3 separate regions of the Homo sapiens genome follow, and regions 1 and 3 are each linked to region 2. Evidence: promoter capture Hi-C in 16 types of primary human blood cells and fetal thymus (Javierre and others, 2016). All regions are on one chromosome and are shown on one strand. Each heading gives the region's core, a stretch centred on a gene start or on the middle of the fragment in contact. The rest is flanking DNA. Distances are from core to core; before and after follow the strand shown. Region 1 overlaps RRM1 (ribonucleotide reductase catalytic subunit M1). Region 2 holds the start of OR52K1 (olfactory receptor family 52 subfamily K member 1). Region 3 overlaps LINC02749 (long intergenic non-protein coding RNA 2749).

Region 1 (4,009 bases), core at 1,416-3,915, 350 kb after region 2:
CCCGCCGCCCCGTCTGGGATGTGAGGAGCACCTCTGCCTGGCCACCACCCCGTCTGGGAGGTGTGCCCAACAGCTCATTGAGAACGGGCCAAGATGACAATGGCGGCTTTGTGGAATAGAAGGGCGGGAAAGGTGGGGAAAAGATTGAGAAATCGGATGGTTGCCGTGTCTGTGTAGAAAGAAGTAGACACGGGAGACTTTTCATTTTGTTCTGTACTAAGAAAAATTCTTCTGCCTTGTGAGCCTGTTGATCAGTGACCTTACCCCCAACCCTGTGCTCTCTGAAACATGTGCTGTGTCCACTCAGGGTTAAATGGATTAAGGGCGGTGCAAGATGTGCTTTGTTAAACAGATGCTTGAAGGCAGCATGCTCGTTAAGAGTCATCACCACTCCCTAATCTCAAGTACCCAGGGACACAAACACTGCGGAAGGCCGCAGGGTCCTCTGCCTAGGAAAACCAGAGACCTTTGTTCACTTGTTTATCTGCTGACCCTCCCTCTACTATTGTCCTATGACCCTGCCAAATCCCCCTCTGTGAGAAACACCCAAGAATGATCAATAAAAATAAATAAATAAATAAATAAAAAGAAAAAACAAACAAACAAACAAACAAAAAAATACATTCCTGGCTGGGCGCTGTGGCTCATGCCTGTAATCCCCCAAGAGGGGTAGTACATGCCTATAAATTTCAGCTACTCAGGAGGCTGAGGTTGCAGTGAGCCAAGACTGTATCATTGCACTCCAGCCTGGGCAACAGAGCGAGACTCCGTCTAAAAAAGTATAAAATAAAATAAAACAATAATATTAAAATAAAATAAAATACATTCCTGGCCAGGCACAGTGGCTCACACCTGTAATTCGAGCACTTTGGGAGGCCGAGGCAGGTGAATTGCTTGAGGCCAGGAGTTTGAGACCAGCCTGGCCAACATGGCAAAACCCCATCTCTAATAAAAATACAAAAATTAGCCAGGTGTGTTGGCACACACCTGTGATCCTAGCTACTCAGGAGGCTAAGACATGAGAATCACTTGAACCCAGGACAGAGGTTGCAGTGAGCCAAGATCATGCCGCTGTACTCCAGCCGGGGCAACAGAGTGAGTCTCTGTCTCAAAATACATACATACATACATAAAATAAAATACATTCCCATGAACCAGATCAAACTTTTTTTAAACTTGGAATTCTATCTCCTCTAGGAGTACTCTCAAAAATGCTTTGTGAGTCAGACAGAAATATCCTGTTCTTTTCACTCCTAAAACAGGCTTATCTCTTTGGAAAGGTCAAACATTTTTATTCTTTTGTCTTTGTTTTTATGCATATGACTTCCAGGTTTGCCCAAGACAATATGTCTGCCTTAGGTTATAACTGTTTAGAGAGCTAGACTGTGTCTCTGTGTAACAACAGACTATAAGACTTCAAAGATAAAGATCATCATCTTCTATTCAGTATCCTCAGTCCTGGCACATACTAGATGTTCAATAAATGTTAAATTAAAAAACAAATTTATAATTCTACTTAAATACCCAATACATTATCAGGGAATAAGAACATAATCCAAAATCACCAGACTTTACAGCTGGCAACGACTAGCTAAGTAAGCTGGCTTTCACTTTATAAAGTGAGAAAACAATGGATGTTTTTGAATAGCGGGTTGACGTGTGCAAAGTTTTATCTGAGGAATGGTGGTAATGCACACAAAATGGCTGGGAGCAGAGATCCTAGAAGCAATAAGGTCAGTTTAGAATAACAGCAGCAGAAAAGGAAGGAAGATATTTAAGAAATAATACAAAGGAACAATCAACACAACTTGGTAATTGTACGGACAGTAAAGGAAGGAAAGCATCACAGGTAACTACAAGGTTTCAAACCTAAGAAGGAAATAAACCTAACAGAAACAAGAAAATCCAAGGCAAGACCCTGTTCTGGTACAAAAACCATGGGTTGGTTTTAACGTTCTGGATTTGAACTTAAAGAACTTCTAGGTGATAATATTTAATAGGTGGCTAAAACATAAAATCATTCCAATGCCAAAATATCTCAAGCTGGCAATTAAGTACTCCTTGATATTCTCTACCAACCTGCTTCCAGCCGTAGAAGTGCATACTAGTGAGTTTGCCATAGTTAGGCTCAGCAATGTGGATGTTCAAAGATTGGCTTTGATCAATGAAAGCACCTCTCTCAGCTGCCATCTTGAGAACAGTTTTCTGAGAGATTTCCCACACAGTTTTATAAAGTTGCTTCAGGTCATCAGGAATTTCTGGTATGCTCTAAAGAAGGAAAACCCAATGTTTACTTTACTCCAGTTAAAGAAAGCAGTGTATGATTAATAGAATAGTGACACAAGCTTTGATCTTCATTTTACTTCCTGCCAGATCTGACCTTACCATTCAGTATCATATGATATGATCCTTATCAAGTTTACCAAGACTATTTAGAAAGTTGAACAAAACCCCCATCTAACCAACCAAATATCAATCTGGTGATAGTAATTTCAGCATCCCTTTTTTGTTGGTCATAAACCAATTTTTTAATTTTTTAATTGATTTATGACCCAAACATTCATTCTTCTAGAGGCACTTAAAGAAAGGAAAAGTCAGAGCTAAGCAGCAATAAATGACCCTTGAGTTTTGCAGAAAACACAAAAAATAAGGGCTGTAATTCACAGGGACCAAGGGAAGCAATGAGATAAAACCCTTTAAATAAGCTAGGATTTCAAACTCCCTTTGGAATCCAAAATCAGGTTTTCTTAGGCCTAGGGTTAACTTTCATTAAAACACACAGACTGGCTAATGCTACAGTTTCTGTCATTAAATATGGAACTGTTATAGGACTCTTCATCTGTGTTGCTAAGCAGACCAACATTTAGCCAGACACCTCTATCTGCAAATAAATGCCTCTTGACTCTTAGTTGCAAATATTTACACGATTTGTGACTCTGTCTTTTGGACTATCAGTCGTCAACCATGATTTTTAATTAAGCTTGACTCTCTTAATTTCAGTCTTTCTATCTATGATCCCCCAAATTTTGATATACTTTGGAATCACCAAAAGAATCTTTAAAAATTATTGATGTCTGAGGCCAGGCACGGTGGCTCATGCATGTAATCCTAGCACCCTGGGAGGCCAAGGCAGGCGGATCACCTGAGGTCAGGAGCCTGGCCAATATGGTGAAACCCTGTCTCTACTAAAAATACAAAAAACAGCCGGGCGTGGTGGCAGGCACCTGTAATCCCAGCTACTTGGGAGGCTGAGGCAGGAGAATCGCTTGAACCTAGGAGGCAGAGGTTGCAGTGAGCCATGATTCCACCACTGCACTCCAGCCTGGGCGACAGAGACTTCGTCTCAAAAAAAAAAAAAAAAAAAAAAAATTGATGTCTGGTTCCTGTTCCTAGACATTTAATTGGTAAGGAATGCAACCTAAGCTTCAGGATTTTAAAAGCTCCCCAGTTGATTCTAAGATGCAGAAAAATTGAGAACTACTTTTTTATATTATTGCATAAAAACAAGATGGTAAGGGTTATGTAAAGATGTGTACAATCCTAGCACAACAATGCAGAGGTGAACAGAGCTACACAAGCAAAACCTAGATGAACACAATGAAGTCATTCTCTCCATTGTCTAGCATGAGTGAGGAGGTACCACAATGTCCAACTCAGCCCCTGCAGAGCACACTTCATTTTCATTCTATACCTGAATAGAGCCATTGCATGCAATAATCTGGTTTTTCATCTCTTCATGCCATAGGCCCCGCTCGGTAAGATCTTTCAATAAGTGAGGATTTACAATCTGAATGGAAAAGCAGAAAATGTATGAAGAAATAAATAACAGTGACTGCTTAGAAAAGACTACAGCTTTGAAGCTTAAACTAAAATCACTTAAGAGTTATTTAATGCTAGATTGCTTGGTAAATTCTATCTTTTATAAAGACGAGACATCAATGCCACCACACGAAAGCTATATTCCTTTAAGATCTTGACATCTGTTATTCAAGAAACAATATAATTAGCC
Region 2 (3,859 bases), core at 135-2,634:
CTTCTCATTTAAAATGCATCCAGAATGGAGGTTCTAAGCATCCCGATTACAATACTTTGTTACCTGCATCAGAATAAAATTCTCTTCTTAATGGAAAATACTATTTTAAATATTCATAATGTTTGTGCATTTTTGTCAGGAACAAGCTCTTATGACAACAGACATTTTTATTTTCAAGTACATATCAGTACCTAGAAACATGCCTGGCGTCTAAGAAACTCTTCTAAAATACTGTGAAATAATCCCACAAACCTGCTGCATCTTTACCTTATCTCAATATGTATTTTCCACAAAACCCACATGTTTTACTTTGAGTCTCCATGTCCCCCTAGATTCCTCCATTCAACTTTTAAACATCACTAACCACCCTGTGAGCTGTCTACCCATCTTCATACAAGAAAAAAAGGCATCTCTTCTATCAGATTTCTTCCTGAAAAGACAGGGTGTCTAATAGTTCATAAATCTTACTTCCTTTGAAGTTCATCTAAAATCAACTCCTCAGAATGAAGTGCTCTGAGTAGGAGTGTGAATGGAGCCAGTCTTCTTCCCCTAATATCCAGAAACTAAGACCTCCTCTGTAGTGCAAGTTTTGTCCAGACTGTTCATTGTTTTCAGAACTAAGATGTCCATGCTCAAAGGATTTATCTTCTATTTCTCCTTAAAAAAGGCCTCTGTACCCAGAATGGACTCAATTAATACTGAATCTATTTGGTTGCCTATACCTTTATCTTAAAAGGATATCAGAATGACATATCTGAAAAACTTAGAACCAGACAAGGAAGGATAATCACATAATCAAGATACTTCAGGACTGCTTCTGGTAGAAGAACCTCAAAGATAAGGTATTTCTTACCTTTCCCTGCCATCTTTCTAGTTCAGGCCTCGTTTTCTTCCTCTTGACTAATGCAGAAGCCCTTTAACTGGGATGGGGCATTTGCCAGGGGTTAGAAAAAGCAATGACAGGAGGTGAGAAGTGACAGATCCAAACTGGAATAATCAACTAAGACTTCTTGGAGATGGCCCACAGTGTTTGGCATAGGACGGAAGCAGGCATCCTCTGTGGTGGGGAGAGCATCTGGAGTTTGTGTACCAAACAGTTGGGTGGGACTATCGAGACTTCTGTTCCCTCTATTGAAGGACCAGAGTAGAAGCAATAACAGGGTTGGAGAGCTGATGCCTAAGATCAGGAATGGCTATGGGAAGAAATTGACAGTGCCCCCACCTTCCAGCTCACTCCCACCTTCCTGCTCACCCCAATAACATCACTTGTTTTCTATTTCCCTAAGTTGCAGCTGTATCCACAGTCCTCAGTCTGACTTACAATCCTGGGCCCTTTTCATTAGCTTCATGCAGCACCAGTGCCGCCTTCCTCTTTCAGTCTAAGGAGTCTTAGAAGGAGGAAGCTGGGAAGCGAGCAGCTGGCTTTAATCCTCACCAACCTCTGCCCTTCTCCCAGAAGGCTGTGGAAGCAGAAACTGCTGCACTTGAGCAGAGTCCTCAGAGACATCTCTGGCCTCCTCTCTCTGGGTTGATGCAAGGGGACTTCCCCTGACCCAAGGGGACTGTATCCTTGTTTCCTACAACCCATGCCTCCTCCCCAGCTAGTGGCACTGAGTTGTGCCTACCAGGGGTCATGCCCTACTTGCCAGAGGCTGTGAGACTTTCAGGTGGAGCTGGCTTGTGTCTTGGTGTTTGCTGTGCCTCTCCTTACTCTTTATCCTTACAGTGTCTTCAAAGAAAGCCAGCCTCATCAGAAAATATACACTGCAGGCAACTCCTGTCAGAACTGACTTGAAAGGGCAGGGAGTCCAGCCTGACCAGGCCAAGGTCATCCATTAGGCATTTTATTTTGCATTCATATTTCATATTGGCCTGAGATATGCATTAATAACCAGCTCGTGAACTTGATCTGGCACCTGTCTGATCCCTGATCTATTTTTCTTATCTCTAAGGTAGAGATAACTTTTACAATATTTTCTAACTCACAAGGATAGGAGGATCTAAGTAGATAAACAAGAGGCCACTATGAATGTGATTCCTTATTAATAATTAGGAAATTACCAATCATCTATAAATGATAAAGAGTGATCTTTCTACCTACAGCTGACTTAATGTGTGCTATTTTTCAAGGACCTGAGAAGATGCTTTTCACTAGAGTTCTCCATGGATTTTGTCTACCCTAATTCCCCATAATTTTTAAAAGCAATCTCAGAACGCTGTAACTCAGTCATCTCACTCCCTTCCCACACAGGTACCCTGGAACTAACTTCCCCTTCTGTAATAGTTGGCCCTCAAGGGTGTGGACTCAGCACTCCTCCATGATAAGTCTGATCTTTTGGGATGCTGGGATAAAGTGGAATTCCTACATAGTTTTAACAATGTACAGCTAGGCCAAGGGGATACAGCCTGTATGAAAAGCACCTCACCAAAACCTAATATGGCAAAAGCCAGATAAAAGCCAGACAAGAGCCAGATAGAATAGACAGTGTTTTTGTGAACAAAGCACCTTAATTTGCCCCCAACTCCATTCTGAATGGGCAATCCTGACATCATAGGAGCAGGATAAGAAGCACATGGAGTGGGGGAGTGGGCAGTGGGGCCATTGGCTCAAACCATGCTGGAGATAACTGCTGGAATATTGGAACACTTAGACTGTTTAATTCATTGACATCCTCCCCACCCTATCTTTTCTTTTGTAAAATCTAGATTCTTTTACATTCATATGCATCTTTGTTTTGGTGTTCTTCATTCCCTCCAGGTTTTTCATGTTTCCATCTGGATCATTTTTTTTCTGCATGAAAAACTACTTTTATTTTTGCTTTTATTACAGGCCATATAGTGACACATTCCATCAACTTTTGCTCATTTGTAAAATTATCTTAGTCATCTTTGTTTGTGAAAGATGACTCACCTCCCGGGCCTCTGTCTAAAATTCTATTTCAATTTGAATAGGTTTTTAAATGGGCAATTCTTCTTTCATCCACTTTAGTATATTAATTGTATTCTGCCTTCACTTGCTTTTTTTGAAGTCAAGTATCTATTAATATCAGTCTTATTGTTGATCCTGTGAATATAATGTGCCCTACCCATACCTGGGTGCTGCTTTCTTTTTTTTTTTTTCCAGTTAGCTGTGATCACACAGAACATTGTAGGCCTTTGTATCAGTCTGTTCTCACACTGCTATGAAGAACTACCTGAGACTGGGTACTTTTATGGAGAAAAGAGGTTTGACTGACTCACAGTTCCTGCAGGCTGTACAGAAGCATGGCTGGGAGGCCTCAGGAAACTTAGTCATGGCAGAAGATGAAGGGGAAGCAAGCAGGTCTTACCACAGCGGAGCAGGAAAAAGGGAATGGGGGCGGGGCCATACGCTTTTAAACAGAACATCAAGGGGGAAATCTGCCCCCATGATCCTATCACCTCTCACCAGGTCCCCTCTTCTGACATGTGGGGATTACAATTCGAGAGGAGATTTGGGTGTGGACACAGAGCCAAACCATATCAGCCATGTAAGGATTTCACTTTGCAAAGGTTCATAATTTCTCTCGGAATAAAAGCCAAGGTTGAGCAGTGAATTGACATTATTTGACATATGTTTTTTAGATATTGCTTCTGACTTAATGGGAACAGCACAAGATGATGAGGATGAAAGCAGAGAAAGGATTACAGATGCTATTGTAGGCATCCAGAGAGAAGATGGTGTTTCCAAATCAATGTGTTAATCATATATATGGAGAGAAATCAGATGTATCAGATTTTATATCTATTTTTTAAGTGCCAGTGGGAATTCCTGAAAAATTAGCTCCAGGCTGTGAGAGAAAAAGAAATCAAAGATAACACCAAGACTCCTTGCTTGAGG
Region 3 (3,780 bases), core at 649-3,148, 280 kb after region 2:
AAGGATCAACACCTTGGAGTTCTACTGCTGTGTCAGTTAACAGAGGCTTAAGAGCAGTTTTTCTCTGGTGCCCTTTTCAGAAGACCAAATCCCCAGGTTACAGAGCATGCAGGGCCTGCACAGGTGGCTGTTGTAGAAATGCAGCGTTTACCTGTTGGTGATAAAGCTGGAGTTATTGTGAGTACCCTTCAGCAATGAATCATATCAGCTTGTACTCATAATGTAGAATCTAGGATTGCAAGTAGTGAGGAAGCCTGTTATGAATTCCAAAGGTGGCCACCTGTAGGTCCTGAAAATTGGTCTTACTTCCATCAACACCAATAGCACTCCTCAAGCCTTAGGAGTGTGAGGGTTTTGAGAGCTCTGATAATTATACTTTTAGAATTTTAGTTCTATCTTTTCCCTGAATTTTGTGGATGATAAAGGTCAGTAGAGATTCTGAGTAAAAAGTAAAGCATTGCAGGGTTCAGTAACAACAGTACCAGTGATATGTGTGTTCCTCTTAACTGCAAAATAAGTTGGGATTTTCCAAGTCAGAAATACAACAAAATTAAGCAAATTTGTTCCTACCACTATAGCTACCACTCTCCAGTAAGGTAAAACATCAACTAACCCTAAGAATAAACAACAATAATCAGAATGCACTCAGCACATTTGGAGACGTTCAAAGGGGCAGTGAGACTTCGGTTCCTGTCCATGACCTATCCTTAAAATCTTGCCAGGATTGTGTCATTGTCAGGTTGGACATATTTTGGAAATGTCTATGAAACCTCCTAAAATTACCCCCATCAATGTTGGTTCAATATCATGACAAATAAAAAAGAACAAGGTCATGTCCTTTGCAGGAACACGGATGGAGCTGGAGGCCATTATCCTTAGCAAACTAACACAGGAACAGAAAACCAAATACCACATGTTCTCACTTGTAAATGGGAGCTAAATTATAAGAACACATGGACACAGAGAGGGGAACAACAGACACTGAGGCCCGCCAGAAAGTGCAGGGTGGGAGGAGGGTGAGGATAAGACAAAATAACTAATGGATACCAGGCTTAATACCTGGGTGACAAAATAATCTGTACAACAACCCCTGTGGCATGAGTTGACCTATGTAGCAAACCTATACATATACCCCTGAACTTAAAATAAAAGTCAAAAAATAAAAAATAAAATAAAAATCATGGCAGATTTATCTCTTGTATTATGGGTAATATCATGAAGCACTTTTGCTAAATTCTACATTTATCATGGCCATTTCTTTAGGTAATGGAAAACTTCTCAGGGTTCCTTAATTTGCTATCCATTTTATAAGGATTCCTGTAACAGTCAGAAAATGTCCTTTTTTTTTAAAGCATTTCAAAATCATGGGCCAACCCAAAATCATACCCACCATCAGGACAAGTATTTGTTTTTTATCTTTTGTTGGCTGGCATGTCTGGACAAAGGCAATTTAGCCATCTGAACAGATTTCATTTCTTTGAGAAGCTTAAAGGTAAATTCAAGTCTGTGATAGTATAACATAATTGGCAACTTGTAGTTTTTCTTTTTAGGTATGAACCATCTACAAACAATTAAATGAGGGGTGTCCAAAAAATAAAATACTTGGGAATATACCTAACCAAGGAGGTGAAAAATCTCTAAAAGGAAAACTACAAAACACTGCTGAAAGAAATCATTGACAACACAAACAAATGGAAACACATCCCAAGATCATGGGTGGGTGGAATCAATATAGTGAAAATGACCATACTGCCAAAAGGGATCTACAGATTCAATGCAATTCCCATCAAAGTACCATCATCATTCTTCACAGAACTAGAAAAAATAATCCTAAAATTAATATGGAACAAAAAAAGACACCACATAGCCAAAGCAAGACTAAGCAAAAAGAATAAATCTGCAGGCATATTACCCAACTTCAAATTCTACTATAAAGCTATAGTTACCAAAACAGCATGGCACTGGTATAAAAATTGGCATGTAGACCAATGGAACAGAATAGAGAACGCAGAAATAAACTCAAATACTTAAAGCCAACTGATCCTTGACAAAGTAAACAAAAACATAAAGTGGGAAAAGGACACCATCTAGAAGAAAGAAACTGGATCCTCATCTCTCACCTTATACAAAAATCAACTCAAGATGGATCAGAGACTTAAATCTAAGACTTGGAACTATAAAAATTATAAAAGATAACATCAGTAAAACTCTTCTAGACATTGGCTTAGGCAAAGAGTTCATGAACAAGAACCCAAAAGCAAGTGCAATAAAAACAAAAATAGATGGGACCTAATTAAACTAAAAAGCTTCTGCACAGCAAAAGAAATAATCAGCAGAGTAAACAGACAACCCACAGGACGGGAGAAAGTATTTGCAAACTATGCATCATACAAAGGACTAATATCCAGAATCGACAAGGAATTCAAACAAATCAGCAAGAAAAAAAAAATAATCCCATCAAAAAGTGGGCAAAGGACATGAATAGACAATTCTCAAAAGAAGATGTACAAATGGCCAACAAACATATGAAAACTGCTCAACATCACTAATCATCAGGGAACTGCAAATTAAAACCACAATGAGATACCCCCTTACTCCTGCAAGAATGGCCATAATAAAAAAATCAAAAAAACCGTAGATGTTAGTGTGGATACAGTGAACAGGGAACACTTCTACACTGCTGGTGGGAATGTAAACTAGTACAACCAGTATGGAAAACAGTATGGAGATTCCTCAAAGAACTAACAGTACAACTACCATTTGATCCAGCAATCCCACTATTGAGTATCTACCCAGAGGAAAAGAGTTCATTATATGAAAAAGACACTTGCACATATGTTTATAGCAAAACAATTTGCAATTGCAAAAATATGGGGCCAGCCTAAATGCCCATCAACCAAAAAGTGGATTTTAAAAATGTAGTGTGTGTATACATATATATATCACATTTATATACACATATATATGTGATATATATGTGAGATATATATATATATATATAGTGAAATACTACTCAACCATTAAAAGGAACAAAATAATGGCATTTGCAGCAACTTGTATGGAATTGGAGACCATTATTCTAAGTGAAGAAATTCAGGAATGGAAAACCAAATATTGTAGTTCTCATTTATAAGTGAGAGCTAAGCTACAAGGACGCAAAAGTGTAAGAATGATAAAAGGGACGGTGGAGACAAGGGGGAAGTTGGGAGGGGGACGAGGGATAAAAGACTACACATTGGGTACAATGTACACTGCTCAGGTGATGGCTGCATCTCAGTAATTATCACTGAAGAACTTATCCATGTAACCAAAAATCACCTGTTCCCCAAAAACTATTGAAATTTTTAAAAGGTTAAAAAATAAAAATTTAAAAAAAGATCTGAAAGAGCATGATAGTCCCTTAACAGAGGTAAAGCCACCTCCTTTAAAAGAAGGAGGTGGCTGTGTGTAGAGTATTGCCACACTGGACAGTGATATGCGAAGGGGGAGGCAACGATATGTCACAGAGGGTAGGCAACTAGCAAAAAGTGGTGAGGATATTCTGTGAATATAAGCGTCCGCAGAGCATGGGGAACCACTAAGTTTAGCGGAGGCGTCAGAACTAAATCTACTGAAGTTGAAGTTTTCTCATATTTTTCTATCGCTATTATAACTCTTAGGGAGGTGGATAACCAAGAAGCGCTGACTGTTTTCTCTCAGTAAAACAGTGTTCACTATGGGGAACCATTCAGTTTGGTGGAAACTCTAGGACTAAGTTGGCTGAGGCTTCCACAAGCTTTG

The links. The method cuts DNA at HindIII sites, captures the fragments that hold promoters and counts their contacts. A CHiCAGO score of 5 or more calls a contact.
Region 1: a contact is called between a fragment that was not itself captured here and the fragment with the promoter of OR52K1 in region 2, in 2 of 17 cell types (M1 macrophages and M0 macrophages). The highest score is 5.6, in M1 macrophages.
Region 3: a fragment that was not itself captured here is called in contact with the fragment with the promoter of OR52K1 in region 2 in 11 of 17 cell types (M2 macrophages, total CD8 T cells, non-activated CD4 T cells and 8 more); the score reaches 9.6 in M2 macrophages.

Annotation. Positions count from the first base shown.
Region 1 is chr11:4,133,341-4,137,349 of GRCh38, reverse strand. RRM1 (ribonucleotide reductase catalytic subunit M1) reads right to left here. Exons shown (of 19, transcript NM_001033.5): 17 at 3,692-3,787; 18 at 2,080-2,268. Among named protein-coding and RNA genes, the nearest start is that of RRM1, 41 kb to the right of the region's middle. The HindIII fragment of the contact is 635 bases long and covers 2,348-2,982 here.
Region 2 is chr11:4,480,171-4,484,029 of GRCh38, reverse strand. OR52K1 (olfactory receptor family 52 subfamily K member 1) reads right to left here and starts at 1,384. Exons shown (of 2, transcript NM_001005171.3): 1 at 854-1,384. The HindIII fragment of the contact is 19,878 bases long and covers 1-3,859 here.
Region 3 is chr11:4,198,630-4,202,409 of GRCh38, reverse strand. It overlaps LINC02749 (long intergenic non-protein coding RNA 2749), which reads right to left. Exons shown (of 2, transcript NR_047550.1): 2 at 1-151. Among named protein-coding and RNA genes, the nearest start is that of LINC02749, 13 kb to the right of the region's middle. The HindIII fragment of the contact is 821 bases long and covers 1,488-2,308 here.